Regions from separate parts of the Homo sapiens genome. Here region 2 is linked to region 1. Evidence: promoter capture Hi-C in 16 types of primary human blood cells and fetal thymus (Javierre and others, 2016). All regions are on one chromosome and are shown on one strand. Each heading gives the region's core, a stretch centred on a gene start or on the middle of the fragment in contact. The rest is flanking DNA. Distances are from core to core; before and after follow the strand shown.

Region 1 (7,031 bases), core at 2,518-5,017:
TTGTTAGAAATGAAATTGTAATTTTTACTTTTCTGATTGTTTATTGCTAGTTTATAGAATTCTATTTTTGTATATTGACCTTGCATAGGACTTGCTGAATTCACATAGCTCTAGGAGTTTTTTTCTGGATTCCTTATGATTTTACAGTACACAATCATTCTGTCTGCAATAAAGAGTTTTACTTCTTCCCTTCCACTCTGTATACTTGTTTTCTTCTTCTCCTCTCCCTTCTCCTCCTTTCTCCTCTTCCTATTTCCTCTTCTCTTTCTTTTCATCTTCTTGTCTTATTGCACTGCCTAGGGCCTCCAGAAGAATGTTGAATAGGACTACTAGTAAGACTGGGTGTTCTTGTGTTAATCTTAGGAGAAGACATTCAGTCTTTCATCATTAACTAAGGTGCTGTCTGTAGGCTTTTTGTAGACGCCCTTGAACCAGTTGAGGATGTTTCCTTCCTTTGTTTTTTTCAGTTTGTCAAGCATTTTAAATCATGGATAGATATTAAATTTAAAAAAAATGTTTTTGCTTCATCTATTGATATAATTATATGGGCTTTCTCCCTCATTTTGTTAATATGGTGAATTATGTTAATTGATTTTTGAGTGTTAAACCAATCTTGGATTTCTCGAAGAAATCTCACTTGATTATAATCCTTTTTATAAATTACTGGATTTACTTTGCATATATATGTGTATCTATATAATTTTGTCTCCATGCATAAGGGATATGAATTATGGATATTTCTTATAATGTCTTTTTCTGGTTTAGTATCAGAGTAATACTGCCTCTAAAAAATGGGTTTAGCAAATATTCTCTTCTTTTCTGTTTTCCTAAAATGTTGAATTATTTCTTCATGTGTTTGATAGAATTCAACAGTAAAGCCATCTGATCCTGGGGTTCCTTTGTGAGATGGCTTTCTTAATTTTGAATTCAATTTTTATGGTACATATAGGGCTATCATATTATCTATTGCTTCTTGTGTCAGTTTTAATACTTGTCTTTCAAGGTATTCATTTGTTTTAGTTGTGACCAAATTTATTGACATGGAGTTGTTTATCCTATTCCCTTATTTTTGTAAATATCCTTTGGATTTGTATTGATGGCTTCTCTTTCAATCTTGATATTGGTAATTTGTGTTTTCTCTTTCTTATTGGTAAGTCTAGCTAGAGATTTCTCAATTTTATTAATCATTTCAAAAATCAGCTTTTGGTTTCATTGATTTTTCTCTATTGTTCATCTTTGTTCAATTTCATTGTTCTGTACTGTAATCTTTGTGTTTAATTTGTTCTCTAAGTTTCTTAAGAGAGAGCATAGATCATTGATTTTGGACTTTTCTTTTTTTCAGAATATAAACACTGATTTCATAATATAAGCACTGATTTAGCTGTTTCCATGAATTTTTATTGTATTTTACTTATCACTCGGTTCAAATATTTTCTGTTATTATTAATATTTGTGATTTGATTTTTTCCTTCACCTATGGGTTATTAGAAGTAAGGTTGTTTTATTTCACGTTTGGGGCTTTTCTAGATGTGTTATTGTTTTTTATTTATATTTAATACTGTTGTGATCAGAGAGTATTGTCTGTAAGATTTATTCTGTTAAAAATCAATTGACTTGTTTTATAGCCCAATATATGCTCCATTTTCATGTGTATTTGAAAAGAATGTTTATCCTGCAGTAGTTGGCTATAGTGTTCTATAAATGTCAGTTAAAATAGTTGATAAGTGTACAGATCTTCCACATCTTTTCTGATTTGTTTTTCTTATCTGGATGTTCTATGAATTACTGAGAAAATTCTGTCAGTCTCCAACAATGACTATGGGTATGCTTTTTTCCTCCTTTAGCTTTGATACTTATTCTTCATATATTTCAAAATTCTCTTACGTTCACCTATACACTTAAAATTGATAATGGCTTGTGGTTATTTACCATTTTATCATTATGAAATATTTCTCTTTGTCTCTAGAAATATTCTTTGTTGTGATGGCTACTTTTGGAAATCTGTATATGTTTATATAATTCATATATTAGCAAGGCTTCTAACATTTGGCATCTATTGTTCGTTAAACTATTATACAGAACTGAGGAAACAGTGTATACATAGGCACAGAGGCACGGACAAAAATGACAGGACTGTTTCAGGGCCAGTAAGATTTGATGAGGCCGCAGCATCAGTGAGGACAGAGGAATGGAGGTTTCCATTTGGCCCTATACGCTGTGTTATGGCTCTTGACTGTATAGCATAAAGGTCTGGGACAGTCTTTGCAGTCTCATGGTCCCAGGTTTAACTTCTGAATCTACCATTTATTAAACTTGTAACCTTGGACAAGTTACTTAACCTCTATTTCCTCATATGTAAAATGGGGACAAATAATAGCACATACTTCATGTGTTTTTAGAAAGATGAAATTATATATATATTGCATACATACACATTACGTCTATATACACAAATACAGTGCTTAGTAAAGTGTTCAATAAATATCTATTTTTATATGTATAACTAGTATTATATCATATAATATGTATATATTATATTACATGTATTATTATATATATTTTCATATAGTCTAGTCTCAATTTTCCTGCTGGCTTCAATTTTCAGAGATTTAATTAATTGCCCTTTTTGTTTGAAGTTTTCTTTTCTCCATTTGCTCCCATTCTCCCTGCCCCCACTCCCTTACCGTACTTTCTTAGTTCCCAACTTTCTGGGCCTCCTCCCTGCCCAAATTGGATTTCATAGCCTCAAGAACTGCAGACTGTACAATTAAGGTAGTTGCTGCTTGCTATCTTTCTCCTTTTGCCACTCCCCCATGAACCTCAGTAACTTGGCTACGATTTCAATTTCTGCTCTGAAAAAATGCACTTATTAGAATTTTCCAATTATCTGCAATATGAATGCAGATAACTGGGGCTGATGTACCTAGTTCAGAAACACACCCCATGTAGTTGTGATGAAAGAATAACACTTTTTGCAGAAGAAATGCTCTATATTTATGATAAATATTCTTAGCAAAAATTGTCAGTAGAGCTATAAAAGGACCTTTGGAAGGGGCACTTGAAAACTCGGCTCAGCAACTTCCTTTTCCACCTTGAAGTATCCCCTTCAAAAGAATTCCCAAACAGATGATGTTTGATGTTCCGGACCTCGCAGCATGATGCGAAAGAAAGATCATGGGTTTTGAAGTAGGTTAGTGCAGACGCCTACTCTTTGGGTTATTTCTCAGCCTGAGCGCGTTTCCTGGCTTGTAAATCGCATGTAGGAATCCTTTCCTAAATCCACATCCACAATAGTTTCCCTTATTATGGGTCTTCGTGCATCTTATACCTTTCATTATCATAGTTTCACTTTCCATTTAAGCATCTAATAACGTCAGCTTCCTATAGTGCATTGTAAGCTCCACAAGGCCAAGGACCACGAGAATTCACTGTACCCCTGTATCCCCAGGCTAAACCATCACTGTACACTCAAGAGTCTAGCACAGTGCCTGGCACACAGTAAACAGCAAGTGAATGACAAGCAGTTGGCAGTGGCCGGAGCTCCGTCGCTGGGGCGTGGAGAGGGCCGCCCCGGCCCGCAGTTCCCGCCCTGACACTGGGATAACTTCCCCCGCGGCTGCCCAGCGCCGCCCTGACCAGACCCTCTGTACCCCGACTTCTGTCCGGCCAGAAGCCACAGCCGCACGCAGCGCCTCGCCCCGTGACGTCACTCGGGGCGGGACTTCCGGCCGCCGAAGTTTAACAGTCCAGGCGGGAGCCGGAAGCCCAGCGCGGAGCCGGCCGCGGCCCCCTGTTGTGTTGCTGCGGAGAGGTGAGGTTCCGGAGGCCCTGAGGTCAGCGGGCCCCCGCCCGCCGCGTCCGCGCACCCTCCCGATCCTAAGACCCGCTCCGTCCCCCTCAGAGGGCGGGGCGGCGGTCCTTGGGCTTTGCGCGCCCGGAGCGGTTGCTGGGCGGGGGCGCGGCGGCGCGCTGGGCTGGGAAGTGTCCGGGGAGGCGCGGGCCGGGGTCGCGCACCTCCCGGAGCCTTGTGGGGTGTGCTGCCTCCGAAAAGTTTGCCTCGTCTCCACAAGTCTGTCTCCTTTTTTGTCAACCTCAAGTACTTTTCTTTTGGCAGGTACTTGGATGCATTTTACAGGTTAGCCTCACTTGAGCTGTTGTCCTGCAAGTAAAGTGTATTTTTGGTGATTGAAAGTTGGAGAACTTTCATTTCAGCTGAGTGGTGTAGTTGAATTGGTTCCTGTAGCCGCTGTCCCTAAACCCAGGCCGACGTTACCGCCTTGTGTCCTGACTGCTAGCTTTCGACGGGACCGTCTTTGAGGGACTCATGTAAAGTCTCTCCCTTAATGCTCAGTTCTTAGAAGACCGAGGTAGGTGGGCAGATGGTCCTCTTCCCCGCCCCGCTTTAAGAGCCGAAAACAAACATTAAATCACCCGGCGAGTTGTGTTTCCTAAGTTGGAGCAGGTCGTTTGAACCCAGTTTTTCTGAGCCCAGGCCTCAGTGATCTACCCACTACACCCCGCAGCTCACCAGGCCTGGTTACGATGCAGTTAGACACAGCTTGCAGTTGTGGTTTACAGGGCTTAGAGCTCGCTTTTCCAGCAATTCATTAGTTGTTCCTTGACTTGGGAACCAAGGGGGCACGTGTTACACATGTTTAAGGCTCCAAATCCAAACATTGTGTTACATCTCTGCAGGTGACTTTAATGGCTTTTAGTAGCACTGTATCGGATGAATGGAGCATAAGGAAGCACATGAGTGAATTACATTAACTTTTTGTCTCGAGAATGAAACGTTTCTATAATTCTGTCTTTAACTTGTCCTCTGAAATGGCTTATACTAGACGTAGGTGTGCTGTTGTATTGGTGACTCGGGGACCTGCCTGTGACATCACTAATGCTGTGCAGTAGTCTTGCACTTTCCATACTAGGAAGGTGTGGGAGGTATAATTCTGTGCCCTCTCCCTTTCCTTTTCTCCCATGTACTTTTGAGCATCTTTTTTTCTCACTTATCGTTCATTACTACCTGTTGCTCTTTAAAGTGCCTGTCTAGAGCAGCTTCTTTGCCTTCTGTTTTCTAGACTTCCTTGGTTTGTGAAATCACCTTGTTAGAATTACGTGTTTCAGCTGTATGCTCTGAATAAATGATTGAAGGCATCGTAGTCCAAGTATTGGTATAGGGACTTAGTGGCGTCTCATTTGACCATATTGCTAATTTTAGAGTTTTGGAAAAACTGGTGTGACTGGATTCTGACCTGCAGAAATGCTAGTTTATCATACTTTTTTTAAAAATTAGGAAGTTACTTATTAGTAGTTATTTGTTGTGAAACTGCTGTGTGCCAGGAATGTTTCAAGACTCTGGTGTGGGGAGACAGACATTATAAGAACAAATAAAAATTTCAGATAGTGGCTGGGCACGGTGGCTCACGCCTGTGGTCCCAACACTTTGGGAGGCTGAGGCGGGCAGATCACCTGAGGTCAGGAGTTCGAGACCAGCCTGACCAACATGGAGAAACCCCGTCTCTACTAAAAATACAAAATTAGCCGGGTGTGGTGGTGCATGCCGGTAATCCCAGCTACTCGGGAGGCTGAGGCAGGAGAATCACTTGAACCTGGAAGGCGGAGGTTGTGGTGAGCCGAGATCACACCATTGCACTCCAGCCTGGACAACAAGAGTGAAACTCCGTCTCAAAAAAAAAAAAAAAAAATTCAGATATTAGGAAGTGCTATGAAAAAAATGAAATCAGGTATTGGGATATAGGGTAAACTGCTAAGTCCCTTACCAGGTAAGGAAGGGACTGCGTTAGCCAGGGTGGTCAGGAAAGGCCTTTCATAGGAGGAAACATTTGAGCTAAGACCTGAATGATGAGAAGGAGATGACCATGGGAATCTGGGGAGAACATCTTAGGCACAGGGAGCAGCAAATGAAAAGACACTGAGGTGAGAATGACTTTGCCTTTGCATGAGGCAGAGAGAAGGCCAGTGAAAAGAAAGAGGAGAGTTACATGGGGGCCAGGACATGTAAGGCAGGCTAAGGAGGCTGGATTTCATTATCATTACTGTGAGGAGCCATTGGAAGGGTCAGCTAAGAGAATGCGACCTGGCTTATGTTTTAGGAAAATCACTTCAACTGCTTTGGTGACTGCACTGTTTGGAACAAAAATGAATGAGTTAGAGCCACTTGTTTTAGATTAGATTTTGACCTTTTTTTGAGTATGTCTATTCTTAAATGTTTTTAAAATACATTGTTTTAAACTATTTGTAGGCGCAGTCATGCAGGAAAACCTCAGATTTGCTTCATCAGGAGATGATATTAAAATATGGGATGCTTCATCTATGACATTGGTGGATAAATTCAACCCACACACATCACCACATGGAATCAGCTCAATATGTTGGAGCAGCAATAGTATCCTTTAAAAAAAAAAAACACACACACACACACACAAACCGCTTATTAGGTTAAACAACCACTGTCAATGAAACTTTTGCATGTGCCTCATACTGAGTAATGTGTTTTGCATTGCTACCAAGGATAGATAACGTAAAATAGTAATTTACAAAACAATATATCATATGAATGCACTCTGATTTTATCTGTTGCGTTCATTTAAAAAAAATTTAGTTACAACCCACTTCATTTGAAAACACTGCTATTAAAAAAAGTATATTCTGTCTACACCATAGAATTAGTTATCAAAAATTTCTTATTGAACCAAATGGAATAAGGTTGGTAGTTGTGGAAATAATTCCAAAAGGTTTTGGAATGAGTTTTTGCATCTACATTTGGGTATTTGTGGATCTGAACTGAAAATTAAAGACAGAACTTGAAGGCAGAAGCAAGTTGGGGAGGAGATAAAAAATTGCCCAATATCTCCATCTTACTAATGTACTCTCCATATCTTCCTTCCTCTCTGTGTGTGTGATGAAAATTACATTTCCTAAACAGACATAGTAAAGTTACCTAGATTGAACTTTTCTAAGCTTTTTATGTTTCTGATTGACACCTTCCCTGTCTTGGTGAGCTCCTCAAT
Region 2 (7,031 bases), core at 2,051-4,550, 190 kb before region 1:
TAAACTAACCATAGATATCCTTGGTCCTTCCAAAATTTTGTGTCTTTATAGAGATATATTCAAAGGATGATGGAAGTTCATTTTATAATCTTACAAAACTTAAAGATGAGATCACTCTTAGCATGCTAAAGGTAAGTTTGAAACTGTTTTCAAACCATTAAGTTAGTTACCAAAAATCCACTATTAGGCCCTGGATGGGCCTGCTTTCAGAGTTATGCTTGCTCTTGTGAGAGCAGTTACCTTTTCTTGTGTAAGAATGGGTTGGAGCCAGAGGTGGAGTTTACTCCTCATGAGAAAAGTAGATGTCCAGTGGTGTCCAGCTTTGACTTCACAACCTGATTAAGGTGCTTCAGAAAATATGATTCGGCTGGGCGCGGTGGCTCACACCTGTAATCCCAGCACTTTGGGAGGCCGAGGTGGGCGGATCACCTGAGGTCGGGAGTTCAAGACCAGCCTGACCAACATGGAGAAATCCTGTCTCTACTAAAAATACAAAATTAGCTGGGTGTGATGGCGCATGCCTGTAATTCTAGCTACTCAGGAGGCTGAGGCAGGAGAATCGCTTGAACCCAGGAGGCAGAGGTTGCAGTGAGTCAATATCACGCCACTGCATTCTATTCTGGGCAAAAAGAGCGAAACTCCATTTCAAAAAAAAAAACAACAAAGAAACATGATTCATTATTTGGTGGGATATGAGTATTCCATCCCGTTTATCATTTCCCAATAATAGTGATGACAATGGCATCAACAGCTTTTGCATGATTATTTAATTTTTATAACTTTATGATGTAGGTAGTAATCATTTTGAACTGTGCTGTGCTGAACCATGAGAAAACTGAGGCTTAGACATCTAAGAATTTGACTAATATCATACAACTAATAAAATATAGATCCAGGAGAAGGACTACATCTTTTTGATTCAAAATCCATGTTCTTAAACATTATACTGAATTGCCCTAATATTTATATAATATTCACTGCTCTGCACAAATACATTTTTAGTGGCCTGTCACTTGAAAGATTGGTTGGTCCCTTTATCTTCTGCCATGTTAGGCTGCTATTTACTATTGATTGTCTACTGTAAAAATCTCATTATCTTCACATTACCAACTAGGTGACCATACTTTAACTTGAAATACAGTTGATCCACATTATTCACAGATTCTGTGTTTGCTAATTTGCAGATCTACTGAAATTTATTTGTAGCCTGAAAATCAACACTCTTGGCACTCTGTTGGCTATTCGTGAACACACGCAGAGCACAGAAAAATTTGAGCTGCTCAATGCACGTATTCCCAGCTGAGTTGAACAAGGAGATGCTCTGACTTTTTGTTGCCACTCTCATACTGTAAACAAGTGTCCTTTTCACGGTCTATTTAGTACCATGCTTTTTGAATTTTTGTCAATATTTACAATGACCCTCCAGCATAGTGCTGAAGTGCTGTGGAGCATTTCTAAGTTAAGAGGGCTGTGGTGTCCCTTATGGAGAAGCTATGTGTGTTAGATAAGCTTCCTTCAGAAGTGAGTGCTATTGGCTGTGAGTTCAAGGTTAGCAAATTAACAGTATATATTAAATATACTGTTATATATCCTTAGCCATAAACACACATTAAACAAGGAGGCTGTGTATTGAGCAGTTAATGAAAATGTTGTGACCAGAGGCTCTCGGGTACTTTTCTCCATGTCTCCCCTAGGAGCAATGGCTCAGTATCCAGTAATCAGTGTTTGCAAGAACTTTATAGAACATAACTACTGTGAATAGTAAGCACCAGCTGTGCACACAAGAAAAGGTCACTGTCATGCATGCTGACGCTTGCTTTCACTTTCCTTTTCGTTTTCTGTTGCCTTTTTCCTTTTTGCTGAACTCTCTTCTCTGGTAATTAGATACCAAGTTCCTTTTTGGTCTTCCATTCATTGTTACTTTTCAGTACATGAAAAATATTTGCTAAAGAAGAAAGAGACAGTATTTGTATTATTTCTGAACTCACGTGATGTATGGTATCCTTTCCTTAGTCGATGTTACTGATGGAAGCTGAGGACAGGCTAAACTTCCTTCTGTCCGAGGTGGAACAGAAGACCCTGTCTCAGTGCTCCGCTGGCGAGCTGGAGATTGTGGTGGAGGCCCGGCTTCAGCTGGCTGCAGTTGCTCTGCAGAGGCACCGGGCGGCATACAGGTGCGTCTCTCCATGCACAGGGGAGGGATACCTTTGAAGAGAGTTCCTTCACCCTAGTTTATTAAATAGACTTAAATTTTATGTAAGTTTTAGAAATTCCTATATCCATAGTATGCTTGCTTTTTATTATTCAGGGAAGTTTTCATACATGATTTCACTTAAAATTATAGCTCTGGCTGGGTGTGGTGGCTCATGCCTGTAATCCCAGCACTTTGGGAGGCTGAGGTGGGCAGATCACTTGAGGCCAGGAGTTGGAGACCAGGCTGGCCAACACGAAGAAACCCTGTCTCTACTAAAATATGAAAATTAACCAGGCTTTGTGGCGGCACATGTAATCCCAGCTACTCGGGAGGCTAAGGCAGGAGAATCACTTGAGCCCGGGAGGCAGAGGTTGCAGTGAGCTGAGATTGCCCCTCTGTACTCCAGCCTGGATGACAGAGCAAGACTCTGTCTCAAAAAAAAAAAAAATTACAGTTCTCAATAAAGCAATTATTTTATGAAGGCACACAGCTGGGTTGTTTAATTTCATATATAGAATGAACAAATTAACAATGCTTTGATTTTTTTATACATTTAATTTACTTTTTAAAAAGACTAAACCTTTTTACGAATAAAAGCTATGGAGTGTTTTCTTTTTTTCTAAAACATTGACTTAAAATATTAAAAACAAACCTATTTTGAAAAAGTAAGTTTCTGCATCATATTGCACTGAACTGTTTAATAAACTGTTGTAGGTAGCTAATTATTTAAATGTGCTGCAATTGTTAGTGTCAGCTCTTTCATTTAGTTTGTTCATCGATTTATTTATTTAGTCAACCAGTATCTGTTAACTCTCTCACTGCCAGGCTCTGATCTAGGCAGTGAAGATATAAAGATGCATAGAATACAATTTCTGTATCCATATGCTCACAGATATATAAGCAGTCAGGTAGAGTAGTAAAAATAATATTACAGCGCTTTTTTCATATTTAATAATATGGACATCCACATTCAAGAGTTTCTCCATGCCATTTGTGATAAACACTTCTATCATGAGGTCCTCTGACACATTCAATAGTGATTCATCTAATAATGCATACATTTCTTATCATTCATTAATTCGTTTAAAAAATAAGTTTGTGCACTTTCAATATGCTAGGCACTGTTCTAAGCTCCTGGCAAGTATCAGTGGCCCAATACTCATATATACAGTCTAAACAAAATATATAACAATATTGTGCAAAATCTTGCCCTATATTCTAATAGATAATAAACATGCTGGCAATAAACTATAAACACAAGTAAATTACAGAGTGTGGGCAAAAATGATAAGTGCTATGGAGAATATAAGGAGTAGAGGTTGGAGGGGGACGAGTTACCATTTTAAAATCGTGTGGTTGTAATAAGTGTGACTCCATTTTGATGTTCAATGGCTGACAGCTTTCAAGCCCGACCACTGTCCTTCTCTTTCTGCCCCTGACCTGAGCAAGCAGATAAGAAAGCCCATCTGTTCCCTCCTTTGGTGTTAGTGGAAAGTTCAAACCATGTAAGTCCTGGCCCATGTGCAGGAACTCTTACCTCAGTGCCACCCACCAACCACCATAAAACTCCAAGCCAGTCTCTTTTCCTTACTTTCTCCATACATTTTCCCACCTGTTTGGGAACCTGCTCTGATCTTCTTGCAAGGTCTCTTTATGTGAGCAGTACCCCATTTCATACCCTCTTGACGTGTGTGTATCTGGGATCAGTCGTGACATCTGAACCACATTTTGGGTGGTCAGGGCAGGCTTCATTGATGAGGTGACATCTGAACAAAGTACTTAAATGAGAGAATTATCCATGCAAATATCTATAGACAAAGTGTTACAGGCCATGGAGACATGCCTGATACATGTTTGAGGGACACCTCCAGGCCTCTTGTGGCTGGGGTGGAGTGAGTGAGGGGCAGAGTTGCAAGGGAGATCGGCAAAGAGGTAACTGGTGGACAAGGAGATTACATAAGACCTTTTGGCCAGGGTAAAGACTGACTTTGAGTGAAGTGGGGAGTCATTGTGGAGTTTTGAGCAGAGGAGTGACATGATCTGATTTTCATTGTAAAGGGTTGGCTCTTGCTGCTAGTGTGAGAATTGATTATAAGAGGAAAAGGGTGTGAAAGCAAGGAGATGAATTAAGGAGGCTATTATAATAACAGAAATATGGTGGTGTTTCTTACCAGTGTGATAGCACTGGAGGTAATGAGAAGTATTTGGATTCTGAGTAAATTTTGAAGGTAGAGCCATTCTGTTTTACAGATATTGGATGTAAGTTGTGAGAAAAAGAGAGGAGTCAAAAAAGAAGTGGTCATTAACTGAAATGGGGAGGTTGTAGGGGTGCAGCTTATTTAGGGGAAACACCAGGAATTAAAATTTGGATGTATGTAGTTTGAGATGCCCTTAGATGTACAATTGAAGATGTCAAGTATTCTGAGAGTCTTTAGAATATAGACAGTGTTATTCAAATCTTCCCAGCATAAAGAAAAGATAAATGTGTAAGGTGATGGATATACCAATCACTGCTATTTAATTATTACACATTATGTAATGTATCAAAATATTTTATGTACCCTGGAAGTATATATGTCTATTAAGCATCAATAAAAATACAATGATAAGAATAATACAAATTTAAAAGTACAGTATAACAACTAAAAAAAGTAAAGACAGAATTTTAATACTGGATGAGCTCCGTTAGGGGGTATAAATAGATGGAAGAGAGAAAAGGACCAAGGATCAAGCCCTGAGTTTTGTACTCCAACTTTACGAGACTGGGGAGAAAATGAGGAACCAGAAAGGGGACTGAGAAGAAGTGACCAGTAAGATAGAAGAAAACCAAGAGATTATGGAACCCTGAAAGCCAAGTGAAGAAAGTGGTTGAGGAGAATGGAGTGACCAACTGTGCCACAAGCTTCTGATAGATTGAGTAAGGTAAGGATAGAGAGTTGACCCCTGGATTTAGCATGGAGGCCAATGGTGACCTTCACAGGAGTAACTTTAGAAGATGCTTGGGAAAGATTATGTTTAGAGTTGTTTATGAGAGAATGGGAAGAGAGAAACTGGAGCCCACAAATAAAGATGATTCTTTTTTTTTTCTTTTTTTAAATTATTATTATTATACTTTAAGTTTTAGGGTACATGTGCACAGTGTGCAGGTTAGTTACATATGTATACATGTGCCATGCTGGTGTGCTGCACCCATTAACTTGTCATTTAGCATTAGGTATATCTCCTAATGCTATCCCTCCCCCCTCCCCCCACCCCACAACAGTCCCCAGAGTGTGATGTTCCCCTTCCTGTGTCCATGTGTTCTCAGTGTTCAGTTCCCATCTATGAGTGAGAACATGCGGTGTTTGGTTTTTTGTCCTTGCAATAGTTTACTGAGAATGATGACTTCCAATTTCATCCATGTCCCTACAAAGGACATGATCTCATCATGTTTATGGCTGCATAGTATTCCATGGTGTATATGTGCCAGTTTCTTAATCCAGTCTATCATTGATGGACATTTGGGTTGGTTCCAAGTCTTTGCTATTGTGAATAGTGCCGCAATAAACATACATGTGCATGTGTCTTTATAGCAGCATGATTTATAGTCCTTTGGGTATATACCCAGTAATGGGATGGCTGGGTCAAATGGTATTTCTAGTTCTAGATCCCTGAGGAATCGCCACACTGACTTCCACAATGGTTGAACTAGTTTACAGTCCCACCAACAGTGTAAAAGTGTTCCTATTTCTCCACATCCTCTCCAGCACCTGTTGTTTCCTGACTTTTTAATGATTGCCATTCTAACTGGTGTGAGATGGTATCTCATTGTGGTTTTGATTTGCATTTTTCTGATGGCCAGTGATGATGAGCATTTTTTCAGGTGTCTTTTGGCTGCATAAATGTCTTCTTTTGAGAAGTGTCTGTTCATATCCTTTGCCCATTTTTGATGGGGTTGTTTGTTTTTTTCTTGTAAATTTGTTTGAGTTCATTGTAGATTCTGGATATTAGCCCTTTGTCAGATGAGTAGGTTGCGAAAATTTTCTTCCATTTTGTAGGTTGCCTGTTCACTCTGATGGTAGTTTCTTTTGCTGTGCAGAAGCTCTTTAGTTTAATTAGATCCCATTTGTCAATTTTGGCTTTTGTTGCCATTGCTATTGGTATTTTAGACATGAAGTCCTTGCCCATGCCTATTTCCTGAATGGTAATGCCTAGGTTTTCTTCTAGGGTTTTTATGGTTTTAGGTCTAACGTTTAAGTCTTTAATCCATCTTGAATTAATTTTTGTATAAGGTGTAAGGAAGGGATCCAGTTTCAGCTTTCTCCATATAGCTAGCCATTTTTCCCAGCACCATTTATTAAATAGGGAATCCTTTCCCCATTGCTTGTTTTTCTCAGGTTTGTCAAAGATCAGATAGTTTTAGATATGTGGCGTTATTTCTGAGGGCTCTGTTCTGTTCCATTGATCTATATCTCTGTTTTGGTACCACTACCATGCTGTTTTGGTTACTGTAGCCTTGTAGTATAGTTTGAAGTCAGGTAGCGTGATGCCTCCAGCTTTGTTCTTTTGACTTAGGATTGACTTGGCGATGCGGGCTCTTTTTTGGTTCCATATGAACTTTAAAGTAATTTTTTCCAATTCTGTGAAGAAAGTCATTGGTAGCTTGATGGGGATGGCATTGAATCTATAAATTACCTTGGGCAGTATGGCCATTTTCACGATATTGATTCTTCCTACCCATGAGCATGGAATGTTCTTCCATTTGTTTGTATCCTCTTTTATTTCATTGAGCAGTGGTTTGTAGTTCTCCTTGAAGAGGTCCTTCACGTCCCTTGTAATTTGGATTCCTAAGTATTTT

Evidence for each region. The method cuts DNA at HindIII sites, captures the fragments that hold promoters and counts their contacts. A CHiCAGO score of 5 or more calls a contact.
Region 2: a contact is called between a fragment that was not itself captured here and the fragment with the promoter of NEDD1 in region 1, in 1 of 17 cell types (endothelial precursors). The highest score is 5.6, in endothelial precursors.

What each region holds. Positions count from the first base shown.
Region 1 is chr12:96,903,490-96,910,520 of GRCh38, forward strand. NEDD1 (NEDD1 gamma-tubulin ring complex targeting factor) reads left to right here and starts at 3,768. Exons shown (of 16, transcript NM_152905.4): 1 at 3,768-3,811; 2 at 4,115-4,367; 3 at 6,263-6,406. The coding sequence starts at 6,271. RefSeq lists a silencer at 3,801-4,080 and enhancers at 4,321-4,410, 4,451-4,590. The HindIII fragment of the contact is 8,934 bases long and covers 1-6,979 here.
Region 2 is chr12:96,718,392-96,725,422 of GRCh38, forward strand. CFAP54 (cilia and flagella associated protein 54) reads left to right here. Exons shown (of 68, transcript NM_001306084.2): 49 at 52-131; 50 at 2,014-2,174. Among named protein-coding and RNA genes, the nearest start is that of NEDD1, 190 kb to the right of the region's middle. RefSeq lists enhancers at 1,745-1,924, 1,945-2,054. The HindIII fragment of the contact is 3,587 bases long and covers 1,508-5,094 here.